3 separate regions of the Homo sapiens genome follow, and all the other regions are linked to region 1. Evidence: promoter capture Hi-C in human tissues and cell types (Jung and others, 2019). All regions are on one chromosome and are shown on one strand. The core of a region is centred on a gene start or on the middle of the fragment in contact, and the rest is flanking DNA. Distances in the headings are between cores, read along the strand shown.

The links. The method cuts DNA at HindIII sites, captures the fragments that hold promoters and counts their contacts. A contact is called where the count stands out against the background at its distance.
Region 2: a contact is called between a fragment that was not itself captured here and the fragment with the promoter of KDSR in region 1, in 2 of the 25 tissues and cell types used here (lymphoblastoid cells and spleen).
Region 3: a contact is called between a fragment that was not itself captured here and the fragment with the promoter of KDSR in region 1, in 2 of the 25 tissues and cell types used here (lymphoblastoid cells and spleen).

What each region holds. Positions count from the first base shown.
Region 1 is chr18:63,364,252-63,368,546 of GRCh38, forward strand. It overlaps KDSR (3-ketodihydrosphingosine reductase), which reads right to left and starts at 2,955. Exons shown (of 10, transcript NM_002035.4): 1 at 2,760-2,955. The coding sequence starts at 2,867. KDSR-DT (KDSR divergent transcript) reads left to right here and starts at 3,073. Exons shown (of 2, transcript NR_186602.1): 1 at 3,073-3,608. LOC124904317 (a long non-coding RNA gene) reads right to left here and starts at 2,749. Exons shown (of 2, transcript XR_007066400.1): 1 at 1,999-2,749; 2 at 1-878. RefSeq lists enhancers at 2,045-2,339, 2,379-3,326 and silencers at 2,188-2,237, 2,588-2,647, 2,718-3,167, 3,278-3,327. The HindIII fragment of the contact is 17,335 bases long and covers 1-4,295 here.
Region 2 is chr18:63,044,232-63,048,707 of GRCh38, forward strand. No RefSeq gene overlaps it. Among named protein-coding and RNA genes, the nearest start is that of BCL2, 270 kb to the right of the region's middle. The HindIII fragment of the contact is 4,462 bases long and covers 1-4,094 here.
Region 3 is chr18:62,976,504-62,980,418 of GRCh38, forward strand. PHLPP1 (PH domain and leucine rich repeat protein phosphatase 1) reads left to right here. Exons shown (of 17, transcript NM_194449.4): 17 at 1,759-3,915. The coding sequence ends at 2,928. Among named protein-coding and RNA genes, the nearest start is that of PHLPP1, 260 kb to the left of the region's middle. The HindIII fragment of the contact is 3,752 bases long and covers 1-3,342 here.

The sequences.
Region 1 (4,295 bases), core at 1,705-4,204:
TGCACATAATAAACAGCTCTAGATTTATTTGTGTGATTATCTGATTCACAACCACCTCTCCTATCACCTACCCATAAACTCCATTAAAAATACCAATTATTTTTCTGTTCTCCACTATATTCCTAGCACTTAGCCTGGGGAGGGCTCAATATATATTATATATTTCACTGAATAAGTGAACAATGCAACATTATTTTTCTTTTTTTTTTTTTGAGACAGTCTTGCTCAGTCACCCAGGCTGGAGTGCAGTGGCACGATCTCAGCTCACTGCAACCTCCGCCTCCCAGGTTCAAGCGATTCTCTTGTCTCAGACACCCAAGTAGTGGGGATTACAGGCGTGCGCCAGCACGCCCAACTAATTTTTGTATTTTTAGTAGAGATGGGGTTTCACCATGTTGGCCAGGCTGGTCTCGAACTCCTGACCTCAAGTTATGCACTCTCCTTGACCTCCCAAAGTGCTGGGATTATAGGAGTGAGCCACTGTACCCGGCCATATCGTTCTAGTCACTGTCCCTATGCAAATTACATAATATTGCATAGTATTGTCTCCTGTTTTTAAAAAATTATATTGTAATGTCTTATTTGTCAAAAAACGAAAAGGTTTCACAATACTTCATCAAATAGCTGCATCAAAACTTCAACGTTTCCCTATAACCAGACATTTAGATTTTTCCTAATATTCACTGTTATACATAAATCATGCTGGGAGGAAGATCTCTGACTCCATGTTAGGATTTTAACATCATTGGGAAGTGTCTCCTACGCAAATGCACCTACCTCTATGGGACTCATAGGCATCCCTTACTTCTTTTTAGCTTCAACCTGCCACCACTGAAGAGATTTATTTGGTCGGTAATCAGCCAGTTATCAGCAGATTACTGTAAAAATATAGCTGTTGTTGGCCGGGCGCGATGGCTCGCGCCTGTAATCCCAGCACTTTCGGAGGCTGAGGTGGGTGATTTTCTGCTTTTTTCCTGCAATTTTACTACCGTAACTAGATAGAAAACACTAGTATATAAAATTGTTTTAAAAATGAAACAATTGTTATAAGTTTGTTCTTAATTATGTATGGGCAGACAGTTTAACCATCAGCTCCCTCTCCCAACAATACCACAGTCAACTCCTAACAAATCTCAAGAACAATTACACTTTTCACTCTTCTTATGACATTAAAAAAGAAGACAGATGGTGACACCATGTGAACTATTCATGTCATTCTCACATTACTTAGAGTGTGAAATAATAATCCTGCGTATTAAAGCGGGATGGTAAAAATAAATTCTTCTTGGTCCACCTGAACAGACACAGCATTTATTATCTCACCTATGACCTGCCGCGGGATGGGGCTGGAAGGACTGGAGTCAAGGCTCAGTGAAACTGTCTTACAAATAAGGAATTCCAATTTTCATTCTGCGTTTAGCTTTAGTTTTTGCAAAGTTATGCTCTATAAACTCAAGCTCTGAAAGGATCCAAGGTTTAAAGCCACGCTTTTGAGGCAGCAGTTCTCTTGCGGATGTAAAACTTTCAGAATTTAGAGTGTCAAGTTTTGCCTTTCTCTTATTTATTTTTTGTAATGAATCCACACTCTTTCCCCATTAGGAACAGGAGGTGTTGGAAAAAGCTAATAGCTTTACAAAGGAGAAATTAAACAGATACATTTTCTCATTCACAAACCCTTGTACAGATTTAAAGCATACTAAGAAAAACGACCATCTTATTTTATACCAGCTCAGCGGGGAGGCTCGGATCTCCGGTGCAGAGATAGGACAGGAAGAGGTGTGCGGCCAATTTTGTAACCAACCCTCCTTACTCCTAACTCCTCGCCTCACTGTGCCTCGGGTTTGGGAGATCCAAACGAGAATGCTCGTGAGAAAGCCACTGCAAACGGGAAAGTGCTGGGCGCAGGCAAGGAGGCATTCTCTCTGTTTAAGAAAGGTGCCACATTTGCAGAACAGGGATCGCTGAATATGCGAGCTTCCGCCAAGAAATAAATCACACCTATCCACCTCTCCTTCATTCCTCGCACACAAGCCTTGTCGTTTAGCTCATCCTTCCCACTAGAAAACAGCAAAGGATTGCATTGGAGCAGCAATCAGCAGATGCCACGCTGAGCTCAGAGACAAGCAGTGTAGACGGGACAGGCGTCCCAATACCGCTAAGCCACCACCGCCAGCCCGCTGGGTTCTGAGCAGTTTCCCCAGGTGAGTCACTTCCTGGAATCCTCTGGCAGCGGCTCTTCCCGTCACTCGCACAGGCCATCTTCCAGTTCCGAGCTGCCTCGGCGGGTCCCGGCGGCTGGGACCCCACTTCCCCGCTGTCTGCCCCCGCCCGGGGCCGCGCGCCGCACCCTGCACACCACCGACCGCTGTGTCCTTGGCAAAGTTTCTCAGCCTCTCTGTGCCTCAGTTGACTCATCGGAAAAACTGAGGACAAAACATCCACATCCCAGGGATGTTGCATGGATTCACGAGCAGCCACAGAACCCCTGGGGCCCCGGGAACCCTGCGGCCGGCGGGGTCCCCCGTCGCACGCTCTCCGGCCCTAGGAGGAGCCCGAGGCTGCGGAGGGCGGGTCCGCGAGGCCGGGTGCCGGGGCCGGGGGAAAAGCGCCGGGGTGGACGGCGGCAGGTGACCTTCCCCATTTGGCCATGCCTTCCTGGGGACCGCGGCCTGGAAAAAGGGACGTAGGCTACGCGGCCTCGGCGGCGGAAAGGCCGCGCGGGCCGGTAAGTCGGGGGGCAGCAACAGGAGGCCACTCACCACCACATGCGCCCCGGGCAGGGCGAGGGGCTTGGGGCTGATGAGCGGAGACACCATGTACAGCAGCAGCACGAAGGCCACGAGGAAGGCGGCAGCCAGCAGCAGCATCGCTCCGCGGGGCCAGGGGCCCGGAGCGGCCGGGCGGGGGCCGCCGGGCAAGGCGCGCAGGGCTGGGCTGCGGCGAGGCGAGAATCACGCGCGGCGGGCGGGCGCCTGGAGTGTTTGGGTTTGCGGGCCGGGGCGGGCCGCGGCGGAGGGGAAGAGGAGGAGCCGGCGCGCGCGCCACCCAGGCGGGGCGGTGCTTCCAGGGGGCGAGTAGGCCGCCACCGCCACCGCCACCGCCACCACTGCCAGAATCGCCTCTCGGGGGTCGCCGGGTGTCTCCCACTCCCCCGGCCTCGGGACGGGGCCCGCAGTCCGCAGCCTCTCCCGTGGAAACCGGGCCTCCCGTCCCTGTGCGTCGCGAGCGGGCTCCGGACAGCGCCAGATGCGAGCGCGCCGGGAAGGGCTGCGAAGACTCGCTCTTCGGGAGCTCGAATGGCTTCTTAGGACCCCGCAGGGCGGGTTTCCAGGCCTGCCACGGCCTCCAGTGTGGGCGTGACGAGCGCTCCTCCCTGGAGTTCAGCCCTCGGCTTGGGACTGCCCGCTGGGTTGCTCGGAGGCCCCGGAGCATCGGAAAGGGCGGCTGGAGGCTCCCGGAGCGGGCTCAGCCTGGGAGCCCAGCGACTACGCTCTGAAATCCCGGGCTCCATTCCATATTTTTTGGCGTTTTTAGAAGATGGTCACGGCCCACTTTCGCTTTTCAGAGGACCGGAAAGCCTTAACAGGGAGTTTTGAGGAATCACTAAGGTAATTCAATTTCATTGAGTTCAGAGTTCATCTTTACCAAGCAGGTTCAAAACAAATAAATAACGCAAACAACTCAGCTTTATTAAGGTCTCATTCACGTACTATACCATACAATTCCCGATTTAACGTGCGTAATAGGCCGGGCGAGGTAGCTCGCGCCTGTAATCCCCGACCTTTGGGAGGCTGAGGCGGGCGGATCTCTTCAGGTCTGGAGTTCGAGACCAGCCTGGCCATGATGGTGAAACCCCCGTCTCTACTAAAAATACAAAAAATCACCCGGGCATGGTGGCGTATGCTTGTAATCCCAGCTACCCTGGAGGCTGAGGCAGGAGAATCGCTTGAACCCGGGAGGCAGAGATTGCGGTGAGATCGCGCCACTGCACTCCAGCCTGGGTGACAGATCAAGACTCCGTCTCAAAAATAAATAAATAAATAAAGCTTATAATAAATTGTCTTTAATATAGTCACAGTTGTAGACCCATCACTACCATAAATTTTAGAACATTTTTGTCACAACCCCCCAAAATCCTATACTCATTGGCAGTCACGACCCATTTCCTCCCAAGCCCCGCCCAAGCCTAAGCAATCCCTCATGTTTCTGTCTCTATAATCTTGCCTATTCGGGATATTTCACATAAATGGAATCATATAATATGTAGCCTTTTTCATCCTATCTTTCACTTACTG
Region 2 (4,476 bases), core at 614-3,113, 320 kb before region 1:
AGAAGGGCAGTGGGTTACCCAAGATCACACAGCCAGGCTGCGGCAGTGTTGAGACTGGGATCCACACTACTGAGTTTGGTGTACCTTCTTGTAAGACAGCTCAACCCAGTGTGTCTGCTTTGGGTTCAGAGATTTCAATTCAGAATTTTTTGTAAGTTCTATAATTTAAAAGTGAAATCGTGTAATTTAAAAGTGAGAAAAGAACTAGTCAAGTATGAAAGAATTCAAGGTTTTGCATATCAGAAAGTCCTAAGACTCAAATGAGCAAATTATAACAAGTTAGCTCCTGAGTCCAACAGAGTCTTCTGTCTTATTTCCAGTAAAGTGTTGATCCCTTCTTTCTTGAGTGCAGAGCAGACACCAACAATGTGACTGCTTTATGAGCAAACAGCAGTGCAGTAAAACGGCTGTTCTGGTTTCAGGATACTGTATATAGGTGTGTGTTGATGTTACTATGCTGCATTCTGGAAGGACCTGGGAAGAAATTAAGTTCTAGAAAATGAATTACATCCAATAAAGTCTTTGGAAATCTCATTCGAGGAACTCAATTCCCAAAATCATATGTGAATTTATATATTTTAGGAGGCAATGACAGAAAAACAGCTATTATTTATTGAGCTCTTTGCGATGCCAGGCATGGTGATTAAAAACCTGATCAGTATTATTTCCCCTAGTCCTTTCAACAACCATTTTTGAAATGAGAAAACTAAGGCTCAGAAATGTTAAGTGGCCTTCCCAAGTCAGAGAACAAATAAGTTGCAAGAGTGAGATTTAAACCAAGGTAATGTAGTTTTAAAGCCTGTGTGTTGAGTTCTTAGACTATCAGGCACGGAAGAAAGCTTGTTGCTGACTTAGCGACATGACTTAGAACTTGATAACGTCTCTGGAAGAAAACTAAGAGTGCCAGAATGTTACAGTCTCAAAATATACTAAGTGCTAAAAAATTATAGGAAAGACATGACTTTATTTTTAAAAGTGTGGGTTCTATTTAGCCCCTCATTTGGGATTAGATGGCATCGTATGTTTTTAAGAGAAAATCATCTGCGGACAAGGAAAACATGTATTATTCAAAAGCTTGGGGTAAGGTTGGAGAAAGGCTGGGGAGTCAATGCTGAGAACACCTTTCTCCATGGCAGACTCAGACAGGACTGGGAATAATGAACAACACATCCAATGATTTAAATTCCCACCGGCGCTTAGCAATAGTGGCCCCAGCCTCCAATGGCCCCCTTCAGATATGCTCTCCGGAGACACACAATGGAAGTGCACTTGCCAAACCACAGTGGCTTCGAGATGAGTCTACCAGAGCCTCACCCCACCCCAGCCTCTATAATATATGTCATATGATCTATGAGTTATAATATAATTTTATATATTATATAACACATGTATTATTTATAACTCATGTATAGTATATAATATTTTTACTTCACTATAATTAATATATATTTAATATAATTTTAATGTACCTATATTAAATATATTTAATGTACTATATATTATATATGAAATATATATATAATATATAATGTGTTATAATATTATATATAAATATATAGGAGGAGCTTAGGATTATATATAATATGGTAATAAACCCAGATAAATTATTTTTGGGATATTTAGAAACAAAGCCAATCATCAGAGGCCCATCCTGGGTGACTTAATAACTTGAGTCTTCTATTTAAATCACTTTAACAGCCTGTAATCACAGCACTTAGGGAGGCCGAGGCAGTAGGATCACCTGAGGTCAGGAGTTTGAGACCAGCCTGGCCAACATGGTGAAACCCCGTCCCTACTAAAAATACAAAAATTGGCCGGGCACGGTGGCTCATGCCTGTAATCCCAGCACTTTGGGAGGCCGAGGCGGGTGGATCACCTGAGGTCAGGAGTTCAAGACCAGCCTGACCAACCTGGAGAAACCCTGTTTCTACTAAAAATACAAAATTAGCCAGGTGTAGTGGCGCATGCCTGTAATTCCAGCTACTCGAGAGGCTGAGGCAGGAGAATCGCTTGAACCCAGAAGGTGGAGGTTGCGGTGAACCGAGATTGCGCCATTGCACTCCAGCCTGGGCAACAAGAGCAAAACTCCGTCTCAAAAACAAAACAAAAATTAACCCGGCGTGGTGGTGGATGCCTGCAATCCCAGCCACTTTGGGAGACTGAGGCAAGAGAATTGCTTGAACCTGGTATGTGGAGGCGGCAGTGAGCCGAGATCACACCATTGCATTCCAGCCTGGCAACAAGAGTGAGACTCCATCTCAGAAACAAACAAACAAATCACTTTAACAAACAAACTATAAAGTACTTACCATACATGCCAGGCACTCTGCCAGGCATCCTGGGCAATTCAAAGATGATTTGCCTCTGGCCTGCTTAGAGTGGCTTAGATGGAAAATTCCATTTCATGACCTCTCTTTCCTCCATGTCTTCTCAGACCTGTCTAAACTGGTAAGCGCTGCACCCATTCAGGTTGTGGGTAACAGCTGAGATTGCAGTGTGTGTCCCACACTGGCATCTACAGGGCTCCAAGAGTCTGAGGATGTGGTGGGGGCCATGAGTTCCGTACAATACATATTTTTTGATGCTAATTTTTAAAGATCTTAATAGAAGTGAATGCAGCATCATTTGGTGACCACTCCAAAACTAAATCCCTGCCCAGGAGTGAGGTACCTGCATTTGTATTTACAATCTTTTTGTCACCAAGGAACATATAATTGTCCTGGTCTACTGCCAGAAGAGTGGGGTCTGAAAAGGAGAGATCTTGGCAGACGAAACTGTGACACCACCTTGTGCCAACTGAACACAAAGATTTCAACTAGTTAGAGAAGAGGCAAGGAAATCACTGAGCCATTAGATGCCCCCCAAGAATACAGGGATGTCAAAATTAAACAAAACAACAAAACTGCTGCCACAGCAATGAGTGCTGTTTCATAGAGAGCAGCAATTTAGCTTCAACAAACAAGATCAACAGTCCTGTGAGGTAACATTTTAATTTTGTTGGCTTTGTGATTTGTTTTGTTTGTTTGTTTGTTTTTTGAGACGAAGTCTTGCTCTGTCGCCCAGGCTGCAGTGCAGTGGCATGATCTTGGCTCACTGCAACCTCTGCCTCCCAGGTTCAAGAGATTCTCCTGCCTTAGCCTCCTGAGTAGCTGGGATTACAGGCGCCCACCACCATGCCCTGCTAATTTTTGTATTTTTAGTACAGAGAGGGTTTCACCATGTTGGCCATGCTGGTGTTGAACTCCTGACCTCAGGTGATCGGCTCATCTCAGCCTCCCAAAGTGTTGGGATTACAGGCGTGAGCCACCATGCCCAGCCTGTGATTTGTTTTTGACTTGTAAATTTGTTTTTATAAATCAATGCATAAGAGCTATGAGTATAAAGGATTAAATATGGAGTTTTGTATTTGTAAGCAGCATTACTATAGAAAAAAATTTAAGGCAATAAAGGGGGTCCACAACATATTTTCCCCTGAAAAGGGGTCCAGGCCAGGCGTGGTGGCTCACACCTGGAGTTCCAGACTTTTGGAGGCTGAGGCGGGAGGGTTGCTTGAGCCCAGGAGTTCAAGAGCAGCCTGGGTAACATAGTAAGACTCCATCTCTAAAAAAATTTTAAAAATTAGCCAGGTGTGGTGGCATGCATCCGTAGTCCCAGCTACTCAGGAGGCTGAGGCAGGAGGATTGCTTGAGCTGAGGAGTTCAAAGCTACCATGAGCCATGATGGCACCACAGCACTCCAGCCTGGGCAACAGAGCGAGACCCTGTATCCAAAAATAAAAAATAAATTTAAAACTGTTCATATGTTGCTGAAGCTTAAAAACACTCAGGTGACAGCAAAGGGAACATTTAGCCACACCGGGCATTGGAGGCTGGTTGCCTGTTCACAGAAGCACAGGTGAAAGAGAATGAAAAACTGTTCTGTCTTATATCAAGAAACCCAAGTTACCTGAAGAATGGACTTCAGACCCTTCTCCTGTAGCTTATATAATAATTGAAACAAAACTAGATTTCTCTTGCACACATGTTTTGGCTGACATTTAATTTTTTCATCATATGTTAATATAGTCACAAAAGACATACTTTATGTTGTAAAAATTGGATTTAAAGAACTGTTGGAGTACTCTTTTACATATAAATAACGGAGTCTAAATACCATGAGCGTTGAAAACCATCAACATTGACTTAAAAAGGATGTGGACCTCTGTTGCTTAACTTTCAGAACTGTTTATAATTTCTTTCTCTTCTTGAACCCACATTTCCATTGTACTTCTCCCATGGAATTTTATCCCGTTGCAATATCTTTATGCTTCAAGGCATTAATCAATCACTCAGTCCTGATTCTTTGCCACAGAAATATGCCCATAAATTGGAATTTCAAGCTTTTTAAACTTTCAGTAGCCATAGGGTACTAGGCATTAATTTTTATCTGGACTGATTTATTGCTATAATTGTTATTAGTTTACAATTCATCAAAACA
Region 3 (3,915 bases), core at 217-2,716, 390 kb before region 1:
CATTTACCTTCAATTGTGTTTGGCATAATGTTGAACTAAAGTTGAAATCAGTGCATTCTGTACACATTAGACTGTCTTCTGCTCCCTAGCACAGTGTCTACCATCCATGTGCATCCTCTCTGCTCCAAGAATAGACAGAGAACAAATTCACACAGACTCATTTGCACAGAATCCCATGTATAGCTTGAGTCTTTCTGTTTCTTTCTTAAGGCCCTCATCAAAGCCTGTGTGGAGTCAGTCTTTTTTCTCTACTGGACTATAAGCTTTCACCAGAGTCCACCCCAAACTGTACATGGTTCTATGGGTTTTATCAACAATGTAAGACTGGAAACCTCTTGAAGGTAGATGTTTCTTTGCAGGTCACTGCTGTCTGCCCACGTCATTTTTTCAGGCACAGGGCAGATGACTGACACTTTGATGAATTAGCGAATGGAGCAGAACTCCTGGAGCCCATGGTGGAAGCTTCATTGCTCATGAATCACAAAACCATTGGTTTTGATAGAGAGAAATCTAAAGGGATGGACAGAACAGCAAGAACAGTTTCTGCCAAATTCCATGCTTTGGGGACAGATTATGTCAGTAGAATCAAGGCAGTTTAAGGTTGTGCTTGAAGCCCATCTTACTAATTTTACTAATAGGAATGCTTACCTGCTTATAAGTGTGGTGTGGCAAAGTTGTGTGAGAAGCTGGGAAAGACATCCCTAGGACAAGTAAACACCTTGCCAAATCCCAAATAAAGGGAAGTGGTAGGACTGGAAAGGAAATGGATATTCTGTGGAAGAAACACTTTGTCATCCCAGACAGGGATTTGTCATAATGAAGCCTTTCCTGGAAAGAAGTGTTAAAACTAGGGCATGTAGAGGTATGTCATGGACCTGAGAATCTCAAAATTTGAAGAATAAAGAACCAAGCAGGTACACGTGGCAAAAAAAAAAAAAAAAAAAAAAAAACCCAGGTCTTTTTATTGGCAAGTGGTCTGGCACTTTGGTAATTGATTTAAATAGCATGCACACAGCTGAACTAAAGCCAGCAGATCTTGCCTTCTCCATTGGTCAACAGGAAATCAAGTTCAAGGAAGTTGTAAGAATTGGCATTTCTTCTTTAGCATCTGTTCTCCTGACATGAGCATTCTTACCCACCTAGTCAAACCAAGGTTTTCTCCACCGCTTAAGTACTTTCAAGTCCTCTCTGGACCTTTAGACACTACTGCCTCTTGTGATCATGGAGAGCAATGGAAGATTTAGGAGCATTGTCTTGATATATGCCTGCGTCATGTGTCTTTGCTCAGGACTGGCTTCTATCAGAAAGTCTCTTGCTACCTCAGAGTCTTCCTACACCCAGCCCGTCTGAGGGCCGATCCTTGATCACCATGTTCACCAAGGGAGGGAAGATGTAAACCCATGTTTACAGGAGGAGCTAGCCAGCTATGCTTGCTGTGTAAGGCTAGATGATGGCTTGCTTTAGATAAACAGCAGGACTTGTGACCTAGTGTGAATGGGGTCCCAGTAACACACATAACCGAAATCTTTTCCTTTTGTCCCTACTGCTCCTTACCTGCCCAGGCCTACTACCTGGGGTTTCTGATGACAGGTGCACATTAACTACTCACTACAGAGTGAGCCCTTCTTTCCTCTGTGGGCCACACAGCACTTCTCTGTGGTCCTACAGTCGAGACAGTCGAGGGACCCGCAGGGAACCTGCACAGTTGCCGCAGGTGCTCTGTATTAACTGTCTGTCTGCAAACCCTTGTTCTTCCAGGATGGCAAGGTGAACGGAGTGACTGAGTCCACGCGCATCCTGGGCTACACCTTCCTCCATCCCAGTGTGGTGCCTCGCCCCCACGTGCAGTCCGTGCTCCTGACTCCCCAGGATGAGTTCTTCATCCTAGGCAGTAAGGGGTTGTGGGACAGCCTGTCCGTCGAGGAGGCCGTGGAAGCCGTGCGCAACGTGCCCGATGCCCTGGCTGCTGCCAAGAAGCTGTGTACCCTGGCCCAGAGCTACGGCTGCCACGACAGCATCAGCGCTGTGGTGGTGCAGCTCAGTGTCACTGAGGACAGCTTCTGCTGCTGCGAGCTCAGCGCCGGTGGGGCTGTGCCACCACCCAGTCCTGGCATCTTTCCTCCCTCAGTGAACATGGTGATCAAGGATCGGCCCTCAGATGGGCTGGGCGTGCCGTCCTCCAGCAGCGGCATGGCTTCCGAGATTAGCAGTGAGCTCTCCACTTCTGAGATGAGCAGCGAGGTGGGGTCAACAGCCTCCGATGAGCCCCCGCCCGGAGCCCTAAGCGAGAACAGCCCTGCCTACCCCAGTGAGCAGCGCTGCATGCTCCACCCCATCTGTCTGTCCAACTCCTTCCAGCGCCAGCTATCCAGCGCCACGTTCTCTAGCGCCTTCTCCGACAACGGCCTTGACAGTGACGATGAGGAGCCCATCGAGGGCGTCTTCACCAACGGCAGCCGGGTGGAGGTGGAGGTGGACATCCACTGCAGCCGGGCCAAGGAGAAGGAGAAACAGCAGCACCTGCTTCAGGTGCCAGCAGAGGCCAGTGATGAGGGCATTGTCATCAGCGCCAACGAGGATGAGCCAGGTCTGCCCAGGAAGGCAGACTTCTCTGCCGTTGGGACCATTGGGCGCCGGAGGGCCAATGGCTCTGTTGCGCCCCAGGAAAGGAGCCACAATGTGATAGAGGTGGCTACAGACGCACCTCTTCGAAAGCCTGGAGGCTATTTTGCTGCCCCGGCTCAGCCGGATCCTGATGATCAGTTTATCATACCCCCGGAGCTGGAAGAGGAGGTCAAAGAAATCATGAAGCATCACCAGGAGCAACAGCAGCAGCAGCAGCCGCCACCACCCCCTCAGCTCCAGCCGCAGCTGCCGCGGCACTACCAGCTGGACCAGCTGCCAGATTATTACGACACGCCACTATGACCCAGCCGAGCTGTTTAACAAATAAACTAACCACAAAAGACTGAGTTGCAAGAGTCTCCCAGGCTCACATTAAACCAGGGGTTTTACTCCACATCCTTCCCCCAGACACTGTTCCCAACCTGTCATCGCAGCTAATCTGTAGGTTCTCTTTCTTTGGGTTATTTTTTTAAGTAATCACCACTTTCTTCTAGTGATGCTTTACCAATATGATTTACATTTGTTAACTTCTCCCCCTAACATATCAGATATGTAAAGACAAAGAACAAAAGGTTTAATATATTACAGAGAAACAGTTAATGATAATGTAATATTTTTTAAAATGGCTTTTTGTTGTTTGTTTGGAAGGCAGGGCAGGCTGCCGTTGCTAAATGATTTAATAATATTGTAATTCTGTATTTCTTTGGGGGGAAAAGGCTTTTGTTTTGTTTTGTTTTGTTTTGTTTTGTTTTTGTCTTGAAAATAATAGACATTTGTAGAATATGGAGACTAACTCCTAGGAGTTGCTTTACTCTGTCAGGTGACTTAAGTCACTGGGATTCACTAATTTTCTCTGAGAGAACAGCTGATTGAGAATTTCCATTGTAAATAGCTCAGTGTTGTATAGTGAGGCTTACGATGTTTTGTAGTCTTGGCGTAAGGACACAGCCCAAGTAACTGACGTTTCCCCTCCCCCTCCCCTCTGAGGAGCCTGCCTGCCTCACAACTCACCCTCACTTCACTGAATGAGGAGGCTGAGCAGCTGCAGTGTTTCTGTCCGGAGGAAATGGATCTTAGGCCACTGGACAAGAACCTGCACCCAAGGGCCCTGAACCCATTTTCCTCCCCTGTCCCAGCCTTCCCACTTTGACAGACACTTTTAACTGTGTTCCTTACTGCTGCCACAATCAGCATGGTTGTATAGTGCCCCATTAGGCCATTTACATACCCAGAGTTATACTCAAGCAGAATGCACAAATGGACATGTCATAATTTTTGTTACAATAAATA